Regions from separate parts of the Homo sapiens genome. Here all the other regions are linked to region 1. The links are contacts of gene promoters, found by promoter capture Hi-C in human tissues and cell types (Jung and others, 2019). All regions are on one chromosome and are shown on one strand. Each heading gives the region's core, a stretch centred on a gene start or on the middle of the fragment in contact. The rest is flanking DNA. Distances are from core to core; before and after follow the strand shown.

What was found. The method cuts DNA at HindIII sites, captures the fragments that hold promoters and counts their contacts. A contact is called where the count stands out against the background at its distance.
Region 2: a fragment that was not itself captured here is called in contact with the fragment with the promoter of GUCY2D in region 1 in 1 of the 25 tissues and cell types used here (lymphoblastoid cells).
Region 3: a contact is called between a fragment that was not itself captured here and the fragment with the promoter of GUCY2D in region 1, in 4 of the 25 tissues and cell types used here (IMR-90 fibroblasts, lymphoblastoid cells, mesenchymal stem cells and 1 more).
Region 4: a fragment that was not itself captured here is called in contact with the fragment with the promoter of GUCY2D in region 1 in 1 of the 25 tissues and cell types used here (lymphoblastoid cells).

Annotation. Positions count from the first base shown.
Region 1 is chr17:8,001,012-8,004,162 of GRCh38, reverse strand. GUCY2D (guanylate cyclase 2D, retinal) reads right to left here and starts at 1,548. Exons shown (of 20, transcript NM_000180.4): 1 at 1,429-1,548; 2 at 395-1,124; 3 at 7-311. The coding sequence starts at 1,115. The HindIII fragment of the contact is 18,418 bases long and covers 1-3,151 here.
Region 2 is chr17:7,677,058-7,680,208 of GRCh38, reverse strand. All of the region lies in intron 1 of TP53 (tumor protein p53), which reads left to right. Among named protein-coding and RNA genes, the nearest start is that of TP53, 8.9 kb to the left of the region's middle. RefSeq lists enhancers at 1,406-2,016, 2,017-2,628, 2,629-3,151. The HindIII fragment of the contact is 5,026 bases long and covers 1-3,151 here.
Region 3 is chr17:8,319,084-8,322,234 of GRCh38, reverse strand. It overlaps ARHGEF15 (Rho guanine nucleotide exchange factor 15), which reads right to left. Exons shown (of 16, transcript NM_173728.4): 13 at 3,076-3,151; 14 at 2,841-2,923; 15 at 2,632-2,736; 16 at 1-1,393. The coding sequence ends at 1,242. Among named protein-coding and RNA genes, the nearest start is that of ARHGEF15, 10 kb to the right of the region's middle. The HindIII fragment of the contact is 6,503 bases long and covers 1-3,151 here.
Region 4 is chr17:7,698,242-7,701,392 of GRCh38, reverse strand. It overlaps WRAP53 (WD repeat containing antisense to TP53), which reads right to left. Exons shown (of 11, transcript NM_001143992.2): 5 at 564-652. Among named protein-coding and RNA genes, the nearest start is that of EFNB3, 5.4 kb to the left of the region's middle. The HindIII fragment of the contact is 6,031 bases long and covers 1-3,151 here.

The DNA of each region.
Region 1 (3,151 bases), core at 299-2,798:
GTCTACCTGCTGCAGATTGAGGTCAGAGGGCAGCTCGCGGCGCTCTTGAGCCCTGCGCAGGCTGTCCAGCACGCTGCCTTCAGAGGGACAGTGGCGCGTGAGGGTGAGCACGGCATCGTGGGCCCTGCGAAGCTGGGAGCTGTTGGCGAGTGCGGCCAAGGCCTCCGGGCCTGGGGACAAGGCGTAGTGGATCGTGTCGAAGGGCAGGAAGACCAGGGAGCCATCGGTCAGGCCCAGCTCCTCTGCGGCCTCCAGGAGGTAGCGCTGCTCCTCGCCACCCAGCAGCACCGAGTGCATCACCATGATCACTGCTGCGGACAGAGGCTTGGCTCGCGGCGCCGTCCGGCTGCCGGCAGGACCAGCCGACCTCCTCGCACCCTGCAAGGGAGCCTACCTGTGACCCTGGGCCCGTCCCGAACCTTCCTCAGGGCCTCCCGGGCTCCAGACAGGTCCAAGGGCTCCATGGAAGTCACGGAGGCGACAGGCAGGCCCCGGGCCCTGAGTGCCGTGGACAGTGAGCGTCCCGCCTCCACCCACAGGTCCTGGGGGGCGGTGACCAGGGCCACGCGCGCCCAGCCGAATGCGCGAAGCAGGGCGTAGAGGGCATCCGCGGCGGGGGTCACGGCAGGGGCCGTGGTGCCCTCCGCCTGCGTCCAGGGGCAGCCCCAGGGCACCAGCGCGATCCCGGCTTCTTCGGCGAGCAGCTCGGCTGGCCGGCAGGCCGCAGGGTTCACCGGACCCACGAGGCCCGACACGCGGGCCAGCGCGGAGGACACGGCCCCCAGCGAGCCCGGCGTCCGGCAAGGCTCGGGCAGCAGCGCTACCTCGAAGCGGGGACCGCCTGCCAGGCCGGGGTCGCGGTTCAGGCGGGCGGCGGCCAGGCGGGCGGCCAGGTCCGGGCGAGCCCGAGAGAAGATGGGGTCGCAAGCCCAGGGGCCCAGGACCCCCACCGTGAACACGGCGGAGAGGGCGGGGGGCTGCAGCAGAAGCAGGAGCAGCAGGAGCGGGAGCCGGGGCAGGGCCCGGGGGAGGCGGGGCAGGGACGGAGCCCACCACGCGGGACCGCAGAGCCCGGGGTCCGGAAGCCCACCCGCTCGGCGGGCGCAGGCGGTCATTGCCGGCTTCTGCGAACACAGACGGAGCAGGCTGAGCGACTGAGACCCCGGCCTCCCCTAGGGTTCTCCCCGTAACCCCGAGTTTCTCCAAGCCCGAGTAACCCATGGGATGATTCTGCTGCTACCGCCCCCTCCGGAGGCTGGGAAGACTAACTGGGGCCAAGGACACCGCCCCGAAGCCCCCTTCTGCCGCCCCGGCTTCCCGCTCCCACCCGGCCTGCCCCTCCCCCCGTCGGAGGCGTCAGGGGTCAGCAGGGACTCGCCTGCGCCCTCAGACCGACCCTATCCCAGCGGAGGGGCCTCTGACATTTACAGGGAAGTCCGGGGGCTCGGGCCCACGGCCCCCGGTGAGGGGTCACAGGGCCGGTCCCCCTTTTGACGCCCGCCCACAGGTCTTCCTTGCCAGCCCAGGCCAGGGCGGGGGCGTGGGTACAGCCGGCCAGAGCCCTTAATCTCCCCAAGCTGATTAGGGTCCTTAATTAGGTAGGGAGGGGCGGGCTAGTGGAGGATGAGAGCCCCTACTGCGCCTTTCTGGGGTGGGATCTGTCCTGGCTTCCAGGTAGTCAGCCAGATCCTTTCCCCTCCATGCCTTCCAGCCCCCCACATCACCCTCATCACCACCACCCCTGCACAAAAGCAGCCGCAGCTTCCCCTTTCAGCCGTCGGCCACACTGCCCTGCTCAGCCAGAAAGTAACAAGTGCCTGCCCGTGGACAGCTGTGGGTAATCCGTCCTGGAGAAGAAACACTGATCCCAGTCCCTTTCCTTACAATCTTCTGTTTCCAGTTCTGCCAGCTAAGTTCAAGCTCCATCCTTTGGCTGGCAAAGTCTATATCCCAGAGACCAAACCCACACCAAGCTGACACCTGCCTTTCTTCTTTCACTTCTCTTCTCTCTCTCGCCACACTTGATTCCCTGACCTCTGCTTCTCCATGCCTAGAAAACCACCCTCAGGAAGTAATGAAAAGAGCTTTGGCCTCCGACAGACCTGGGTTCCAAGTCCCTCTTGCTGATTTTTGGACCTTGGGCAATTGCTTAATCTGAGGGTTGTTGTGAAAATGAATATAATTGCCCGGATGGCAAGAATAGCTAACAATTTTAGAGAAGAGTATAATGGAAGATGCCCTATAAGATATACAAATTTATTATAAAGCAATAGCAATTATGTATTTATGTAAATATATAATATATAAAACATAGCAATTATATATCTACATAAATATATAATATATAAAACATAGCAATTATATATTTATATAATTATATGATATATAAAACAGCAATTATATAAATATATACTATAAAGCTATAGCAATTATATATTATATATTTATATAAATCCACATTATGTAGTGACAGCAATTATATATTTATATAAATATATATTATAAAGCTATGGCAATAAAGACTTCATAGTTTTGGCACAAGGATAAACAAATGGACCAATGAAATAGAATATACAGTACTGAAACAAACACAGCAAATGTGTGAAGACGTGGACATTTCTTACCAACTGGGAAAGAATAAACTTCAACAAATGGAGCTGATTAGCCATCTGGGGGGAAAATAGAATTCAATCCCTATCTCACACCATACACAAAATCTATTCCAGGTCAAAGACCTATATGTGAAAAATAAAACTTAAAAACTTTTAAATGAATCATTTTCAGACTTGGTGGCAAAGATTGGATCAGGTAAGAATCATCAGTGGATTCTAAAGCTGGGGGAAATGTTGGATGAGGAGCAGAACTTTTGCAGGGTCTGAAAGTATCTCCCTCCAGATTGCCATGAGTTGGAAGGGAGTGGGGAATAAAATAAAAAGCAGTCATTGTACAGTGGAGAAATGGGGCAATACTTTAAGCAAGTGATCAAAATTAACCATGAGGGGCAGAGAGACATTCTTTGCCTCCAGATGTGATACCCTGAGAAGGACATAATACTACACCTATGCAGTGCTGCACAATACGTCTCGGCAATGTTCCAGCATTATTTCAAATCTAATCACAAGGAAACATAAGATAAACACTAAATGAGAAA
Region 2 (3,151 bases), core at 419-2,918, 320 kb after region 1:
TATATTGTTTAGGGAATCACTGGACATATAGGCCTTCAAGACTGATACCAGCAGCCACTGTTAAGATTCTGGTCAGGCCTGCCCCTGTTTGGGGTCTCAGTTGATCTCATTGCCTTCCCACCCAGCCAAGGGCACCTGCATTTCTCTTGGCTCCCTGGCCATTTGGAAGGCCTAGTTCAGCCTGGCACATTTGTATCCTGGCCCACTGATGCTGGTACCCCTGGGAAGGTCCTGCTCTGAAAAACACGGAGATTTTAGTTGCTACTGAAGATTTGAGAGATAAAGACAGGGAGACCTGTCTGTAGACCTGTGTCCCTCCAAGTGGGATTGAGACTTTGGGCCCCCCATTTCAGGACAGCACCTCCTGGCCTGTTGACTGAATAGATCCCTGAAGGAGGTGTACTTGCATTAATGGAGTGGGGGTGGGAGCAGTACCACAGATCCGCACTAACAATCACACAGTTCTCTCTAGAATAATAATATAGAACAAGTGAAATAGAACAATTGCAGAAAGAGCTAACCTTTGTTGAGCTCTTACTGTGTGCCCAGCACTTTCCTCAACTCTACATTTCCCATAATACACAGAGTACTAGGTAGGCCAGGCTTGGTGGCTCACGCCTGTAATCCCAGCACTTTAGGAGGCCAAGGGGGGTGGATCACCTGAGGTCGGGAGTTCAAGACCAGCCTGACCAACATGGTGAAACCCCGTCTCTACTAGAAGTACAAAATTAGCCAGGTGTGGTGGCACATGCTTGTAGTCCTAGCTACTCAGCAGGCTGAGGCAGGAGAATCATTTGAATCCGGGAGGAGGTTGCAGTAAGCGGAGATAGTGCCACTGTACTCCAGCCTGGGCAATAAGAGCTGAGACTCCGTCTCAAAATAAAATAAAATAAAATAAAATAAAATAAAATAAAATAAAAAAAGAAAAGAGCCTGCCATTAAAGGAGCTGTTTGGTAGGGGATGTTTTGTCAGTGCAAACAACAGAAAAGTGGGCTGGGCACAGTGGTTCATGCCTGTAATCCCAGCACTTTGGGAGGCCAAGGCGGGCGGATCACCTGAAGTTGGGAGTTCAAGACCAGCCTGACCAATATGGAGAAACCCCGTCTCTACTAAAAATACAAAATTAGCCGGGCGCAGTGGCGCATGCCTGTAATCCCAGCTACTCGGGAGGCTGAGGCAGGAGAATCGCTTGAACCTGGGAGGCAGAGGTTGCGGTGAGCCGAGATCGCACCATTGCACTCCAGCCTGGACGAGAGCAAAACTCTGTCTCAAAAAAAAAAAAAAACAGAAAAGTGTAACAAACACTTACAGTAGGCATGTTTCTTAGCAAATCTGATGACAAATTTGGCATAAAGAAAGAGAGCATCCCTGAAAAAAAAAAAAAGAAAAAGAAAGAGAGCATCCTGCCTGGGCAACATAGTGAAACCCTGCCTCTACAAAAAAACTCAAAAATTGGCCGGGTGCAGTGGCTCACACCTGTAATCCCAGCACTTTGGGAGTCGGAGGCGGGAGGATCACCTGAGGTCAGGAGTTCGAAACCAGCCTGGCCAACATGGCAAAACCCCATCTCTACTAAAAATACAAAAAATTAATCAGGCGCATTGGTGGGCGCCTGTAATCCCAGCTACTCAGGAAGTTGAGGCAAGAGGATCGCTTGAATCTGGGAGGTGGAGGTTACAGTGAGTCGAGATCACACCACTGCACTCTAGCCTGGGTGACAGGGCGAGACTCCGTCTCCAAAAAAAAAAAGAAAAAGAAAAAGACTAAAAAATTAGCCAGGCAGGCCTCTGTGGTCCCAGCTACTTGGGAGGCTGAGGCAGGAGAATCACTGAGCCCAGGAGTCCGAGGCTGTAGTGAGCCATGATTGCACCACTGTACCCTAGCTTGGGCAACAAAGCAAGACCCTGCCTCAAAAGAAAAAAGAAAGAAAGAAAGAACATGGCGGGCCAGGCACAGTGGCTCACACCTGTAATCCCAGCGCTTTGAGAGGCCGAGGCAGGTGGATCACAAGGTCAGGAGTTCCACACCAGCCTGGCCAACATGGTGAAACCCTGTCTCTACTAAAAATACAAAAAATCAGCCAGGCATGGTGGCAGGGGCCTGTAATCCCAGCTACTCGGGAGGCTGAGGCAGGAGAATTGCTTGAAACCAGAAGGCAGAGGTTGCAGTGAGCCTAGACTGCACCACTGCACTCCAGCCTGGGCGAAAAGAGCCAAACTCCATCTCAAAAAACAAACAAAAAAACAAAACAAAAGAAAACATGGCAAAGCCTTTGAAAGCTTGTCTGGGAGAAGGTGCGATGATAGTTGCATAACTTCGTGCAAGATGCTGGTCCACACAGGGGCTGCCCCTTGCTCTTTCTCGCTCTCTTAACCTCTCATATAACAGGCTTGTGTGTTATTCACATTTATTGAGCCCAAGCAGGTGCAAGGCATTGTGATCTAATACTTTGGTCAGCAAGACAACAAGATAGATCACTGCCCTGCCCTTAGGAAGTGTATATGCTATTAGAGGAAACAGATAAAATAAACAAGGAAAAGTATCAGACAATGTAAGTGCTATGAGAATGCAAATGAGGTGATGTGAATTAAAATAGGATGACTTAAAGTCTGCACGGGAAGGAGCCTACCCCCATGTTCCTGGCTAGCCAAGGAACCACCAGTTGATTAGCAGAGAAGGGCAGCCAGTCTAGCTAGAGCTTTTGGGGAAGAGGGAGTGGTTGTTAAGAGATGAGATTAAAGAAGCCGAGACGGGCCATTCGTGAGGGGTTTGTAATGCAGGGCTGAGGAGTGTCCGAAGAGAATGGGCAGGTGAGCGGTGAGACAGTTGTTCTTCCAGAAGCTTTGCAGTGAAAGGAATCAAAGAAATGGAGCCGTGTATCAGGTGGGGAAGGGTGGGGGCCAAGGGGGTGTCCTTCCCCATACAGAGATTGCAGGCTGAGAATGACTATATCCTTGTTAACAGGAGGTGGGAGCAGGGCACGGTAGCTCACACCTGTAATCTTGGCACTTTAGGAGGCTGAGGCGGGCCGATCACCTGAAGTAAGGAGTTCGAGACCAGCCTGGCCAACATGCAAAGCCCTGTCTCTACTAAAAATACAAAAATTAGCTGGGTGTGGTGGTACTCGCCTGTAATCCCAGCTACTCGGGA
Region 3 (3,151 bases), core at 652-3,151, 320 kb before region 1:
TGGCTCATCTGGAAGCAGATGCTCTGGATGGGGTTGGGCAGCCACACCCGCTCTCCAATCTCTCCCCACTGTTTGGCCCAGTGTTTCTGTGAGAGGATCAGGACAAAGGCAAGAAAGCCCAGGAGGTTCACTGGCTGGCCTGTGGTCCACAGCTCCCGTTTCTTCACCCAGATGCAGGATCTAATGTGGTTCCAAAGCTCAAGGCTGAGGCTGGCTGGTGGATTATAGTTCAAGTTGGGAGATCTGCAGGCAGGAATTATGGAGGCCAGTGTTTGGGGCAAGGAGAAGGGTCTGCAGACTTCAGGGGCCTCAGGACCCAGCTACTGGCCATCTTCAGTCCCTTGGGCTCCTCTGCCAGGCCGTTGGCTGCTCCATAACATTGCCCTGCAACTGCCACAGAACCCTAGCCTCCAAGAGACCCAAAGCTCAGGGCTCTCATCCCCTGGGTGCCAAGCCACACCCAGCACAGTCTCTTCTGGAGCTCAGACTTAGCATCTTTCTTGGAGCGAATAATAGGAAAAATGGGGGGTAAAGGAAGAAATGGAGCACTCAGTCATTTGTGGGTCAGGAGCACAATCACCACACACACACCACAGTCAGCAGAATGCCTTTCCTGATACATATACACACATATCTACACATGCACATGTACACACACAGATTTTCTGAGACACATACTCTGAATTCTTCTGGAAGAGAAGAACTGGCTTGAGAGGGCACAGGAAGCATCCAGGAATGGAAACTAGTATTTCCCAGACTCAAAAGACAGGACCAGTCATTGCTGCAGAAACAAGCAGGGTGACTACTGGTCTCTTGGGTCCAGATCACCATTTTCTTTGGCTGATTGGCTTCCTGCTCATTCCTGTTCCCAATTTTATCCTACGACTTTATCTCCAATGAGGCCCTTTTTCAACTGCCATGACCTAGATTTGTCTTCCTTGGCCCTGAGCATAGCAGGAATACTCATTGGCCATAGGCTCAGCCAGCTCAGTACCCATTGGCTGCTCTGCACTAAGCCTCTGTCTCCATTGGCCACACATTCAAGGCATCCTCATTCATTCTTATTGCTGTGGGTTCAGGCGGCCGTTTTCATTGGCTGCTCTGTCCTGAAGCTCGATCTCTATGGTTGCCACGAGAGGTAGTATCTCCACTGACAGTGAATCCAATGGATGAATGGGCTTTGTTCTCTCCGTGCCACACTGGTAGGTGTCTCCCAACATGTGCCCCCTCCTCAGCCTGCATTAGGGTGGGGGGGCATTGGGGGTGCCTGAAGAAGATCCAACAGCCTCGAGAAGCCTCTGGTTCTGGCGAAGGTGCCTCCTCCTTTCGTGTTCCCCTGTGACTTCACACACCAGCTGGGCAGGGAAGGCCCCAGGAAGCCCCTTCAGCCAACCTGGGGGAAGAGAGACAGAGGCTCCAATGAGGTGGGGGCAGGGAGCAGGTGAGGAGGCAAAGGGGGCCTCGTGGGGTCTCAGGCCTTCAGGGTCATTGTAGGTGTGGGAATTCATGGACAAGCCTGGAGCATCGGTAGAAAGGGCATCAGAAGTGGAGGTGACAGCAGCTCGGAGAGAGTCTGGGCTGCTCTTCCGTCAAGCCCTGCAGTGGCTGCTCATGTCTCTTGGAGTAAGAGGTGGAGTCCTTGCAGAGACCTGTCAGGTCCTGCGTGATCCCATCCCTGCCACTTCTATGACCTCATTTGCTTCTCCCCCTTTCTCTCTCCTGCTAGTCACACTGGCCTCCTTACAGTTCCTCAGTCACACACCAGCCGCAGGGCCTTTGCACTGCCTGCTGCCTCCAGCTGGGACACTCTTCCCCCAGACACCATGGGCCTAAATTAGCTCCATCAAGCTTCATGTTGCCTTCTCAGTGAGGTCCACCTCGGCCTCCCTATTGAAAATTTCAGTCTGCCCAACCCTGGAACTCCTGACCTTCTTTGCTCTGCTCACTTTTTTTTTTTTCCATAACACTCATAACCTTCACATGTACTTTATAATTTACTTATCTATTTTGCTCATTCTTTATCGTCTGCCTCCTCTGCTAGAACGTAGCTCCAGCAAGGAAGGAAGTGTGATATATTTGATTCACAGTCCCTAGAACAGCGAGTGGCACTTTGTAGGTGCTTAATAAATATTTATTGAATGAATAAATGAAACACGGCCAGGCGCAGTGGCTCACGCCTGTAATCCCAGCACTTTGGGAGCCTGAGGCAGGAGGATCACTTGAGCTCGGGAGTTCAAGACCAGCCTGAGCAACATAGTGAGACCCCCCACCTCCATTAAAAAAAAAAAAGAATAGAAATAAGGCCTGGCACCAGAGGCTCATGCCTGTAATCCCAGCACTTTGGGAGGTGAAAGGGGACGGATCACCTGAGGTTAGTTCGAGACCAGCCTGGCCAACATGGTGAAACCCCATCTCTACTAAAAATACAAAAATTAGCCAGACGTGGTGGTGGGCACCTGTAATCTCAGCTACTTGGGAGGTTGAGGCAGGAGAATCCCTTGAACCCAGGAGGCAGAGGTTGCAGTGAGCCGAGCTCACACCACTGCACTCTAGCCTGGCTGACAGAATGAGACTCTGTCTCAAAAAATAATAATAATAAATACAAAATAAATAAATGAAAGACTTTCTCACCTTCAGGGGTCTTGTGCAGGTGTTTGGGGGCAGCCCTGGACTCCAGACTCCGTCCTTCAGTCTTGGCAGGTGCAGACGACTCTGAACACAGTTCCTGGGAACAGTCTGGTTGGGGGTGGGTGACATTAAAGTGATTCTGTTTAGCTTCTCCCCCATATTCCTCTAAGACTCGCTTTTTCTTCCCTCATCCCCTCTAGGGGGATACTCACCACAGTCCTCATAGATGGTGTCTGGGGAGCAGGGAAGGGGGCCTGGGGTTGGGAAGGCTCCCAGCCAGCGCTGCATGTCTGATCTGGTGGGGATATTGGGAAGTGTCACAGTTGGCCCAAAAGATCCTCTGGGGCTGAGGCAGGAGCCACAGAAGAGAGAGACTGGGGAAGTGGGGGAGGTCTGAGAGGTCAGATAAGTGTCCCAAGGTTGTTTTCTGAGGGAAACACAACTCACAGGGAAGAAGCTTGGAGTAGTCGGTGGGTGGGGCGGCCCTGGTGGTTGCTGAGAAGGGAGAGGCGGAAGGTAGGGG
Region 4 (3,151 bases), core at 461-2,960, 300 kb after region 1:
TGGCTCATGCCTGTAATCCCAGCACTTTGGGAGGCCAAGGCAGGTGGATCACTTGAGGTCAGGAGTTCGAGACCAGCCTGGCCAACATGGTGAAACCCTGTCTCTACTAAAAATACAAAAATGAGGCTGGGTGTGGTGGCTCATGCCTGTAATCCAAGCACTTCAGGAGGCCAAGGCAGGTGGATCACCTGAGGTCAGTTCGAGACCAGCCTGGCCAACGTGGTGAAACCCCATCTCTATGAAAAATACACAATTAGCTGGGTGTGGTGGTGCACACCTGTAATCCCAGCTACTCAGGAGGCTGAGGCAGGAGAATCACTTCAACCTGGGAGGCGGAGGTTGCAGTGAGCTGAGACTGCATCACCGCCCTCCAGCCTGGGTGACAGAGGGAGACTCAATCTAAAAAAAAAAAAAGGAAGGGGAGGAAGCCAACTGACCAGCCCCTCTGATAAGCATGCCAAGCCTTCCTCCTCCAAAGACCCCTGGCAGCCCTTGACTCTCCCAAGAGGCCCTGCTTGAAACTGGGTGGTGGGGCGGCGAGCAGGGAGGCAAACATTACTTACTAGGAGGTGTCTGGCTGGGCTGAGGACATCAGAGAATACCAGCAGTAATCATAGATGGTATCACCTTCCACCATTCGAAGGACAGGGACCTATACAGAGACGGGGGAATGGCTGAGTCACTCGGAGGGAAAAGGAGTCTGAGGCGCGTGCCTCTAGCAGTGTTGTGGCAGATGGGGTGTATATATGGAGCACAGACTCTGTCTCAATGTTCAAGGGTGAGCTCAGACTTTAATGTCAAATTTAGCCACCAAAAGCCATATAGATTCATACTTTTTTTTTTTTATTATTTTGAGACAGAGCATGCACCACCATGCCTGGCTAATTTTGTTTTTGTTTTTTTTTTTAATAGAGACAGGGTTTCACCATGATGTTGGCCAGGCTGGTCTCAAACTTCTGACCTCAGGTGATCCACCCGCCTCAGCCTCCAAAAGTGCTGGGATTACAGGTGTGAGCCACCGTGCCGGGCCTTATACTTTTTCTTTATAAACACTTAGAGAGGAAGAAACAAATAATAATACCTCAACCCAGAGACAAAGAACCAACCAATTATTCAAATACTTACTGAGTACATGCTAGGTGCCATTTGATCCTTTAAAAAAATATTAGTACAAAAATTTGCCAGGCGTGGTGGTGGACACCTGTAATCCCAGATACTCAGGAGGCTGAGGCAGGAGAATCCCTTGAACCCAGGAGACAAAGGTTGCAGTGAGCTGAGATCGCACCACTGCACTCCACCCTAGGTGACAGAGAGACAGTGCCCCCCAAAAAAAAAAGAAAAAGAAAAGAAAAAAATTATCGGCTGAGCACAGTGGCTCACACCTGTAATCCCAGCACTTAGGGAGGCTGAGGCAGGCAGATCACTTGAGCCCAGGAGTTCAAGACCAGCCTGGGCAATATGGTGAAACACTGTCTCTACAAGAAAAAAAAATTAGCTGGGCATGGTAGTGCATGCCTGTAGTCCCAGCTACTAGGGAGGCTGAGGCATGAGAATTGCTTGAGCCCAGGAGATAGAGACCACAGTGAGCTGAGATCATTGCCACTGCACTCCAGCCTGGGCAACAGAAACACTGTCTCAAAAATACAAAAATGGAAACAAAAAAACCTCCTTACAAAAATAAAGAAAAAAAATTAAACAGTTCAAACATACAAAGTATCTTATTAAAAAAACAGCCCTGTGACCCCTCCATCCAGCTGAACAAAAAGATATGTTTAAACCCCTTTCCTAACAGAAACTCTCCCTCAGAGGTAAACACTATCTTGAATTTATCACTGTCATACATTTCCTTAGGAATATATATATATATATAAATATATATATATATATATAAATATATATATATATATATATATATAAATATATATATATATATAAATATATATATATATATAAATTTTTTTTTTTTAATTTTAAAGGCAGAGTCTCACTCTGTCACCCAGGCTGAGTGCAGTGGCACGATCTCAGTTCACTGCAACCTCCACCTCCCAGGTTCAAGCAATTCTTGTGTCTCAGCCTCCCGAGTAGCTGGGATTGCAGGAGTTCACCTCCATGCTCAGCTAATTTTTTGTATTTTTAGTATAGACAGGGTTTCGCCACGTTGGCCAGGCTGGTCTCGAACTCTTGGCCTCAAGTGATCTTTCTGCCTCAGCCTCCCAAAGTGCTGGGATTACAGGTGTGAGCCACTGCGCCCAGCCTAGGAGTATATTCATATGGGAAAAAAAACAGTATCTAACGTTGTCTTGCAGGTCTTTAGACTTAATTTTTTCTTTTCTTAGAGACAGGGTCTTACTCTGTTGCCTAGGCTGGAGCACAGTGGCGCAATCATCTCACTGAAACCTCAAACTCCTGGGCTCAAGCAAACAATCCCCTGGCCTCAGCCTCCCTAGTAACTGGGAATATAAGCATAAGCCACCATACCTGGCTTATTTATTTATTTATTTATTTATTTATTTATTTTTGACGGAGTCTCGCTCTGTCGCCCAGGCTGGAATGCAGTGGCACAATCTTGGCTCACTGCAACCTCTGCCTCCCAGACTCAAGCAATTCTCTGCCTCAGCCTCCTGAGTAGCTACGATTACAGGCGCCTGCTATCACGCCCGGCTAATTTTTTTGTATTTTTAGTAGAGACGGGGTTTCACCATCTTGGCCAGGCTGGTCTTGAACTCCTGACCTCGTGATCCACCCACCTCAGTCTCCCAAGTGCTGGGATTACAGGCATGAGACACCACGCCCAGCCTGCCCGGCTAATCTTTAAAATTATTTTTTTGTAGAAACAGGGGTCTGTGTTGCTCACGCTGGTCTAAAACTCCTGGCCTCAAGCAATCCAGCCACCTCAGCCTTTCAATGCACTGGGATTACAAGCATGAGCCACCATGCCCGGCCTAGACTTAACAGTAATGGTATTATATCATATACATCCCTCTGTGATAGCAAGCTTTAACCATGGAAACACATTTTGCTCTAATTCATGCATTTTCACTGGTGTATAGTACTCTACTCATGAATATATTCAAACTGATCTACCCTTCTTCTATTTAGAATCACTGATGTTTTTCTGTTTTTTGGCTAGTGTGCTTTAACATTCTGTACA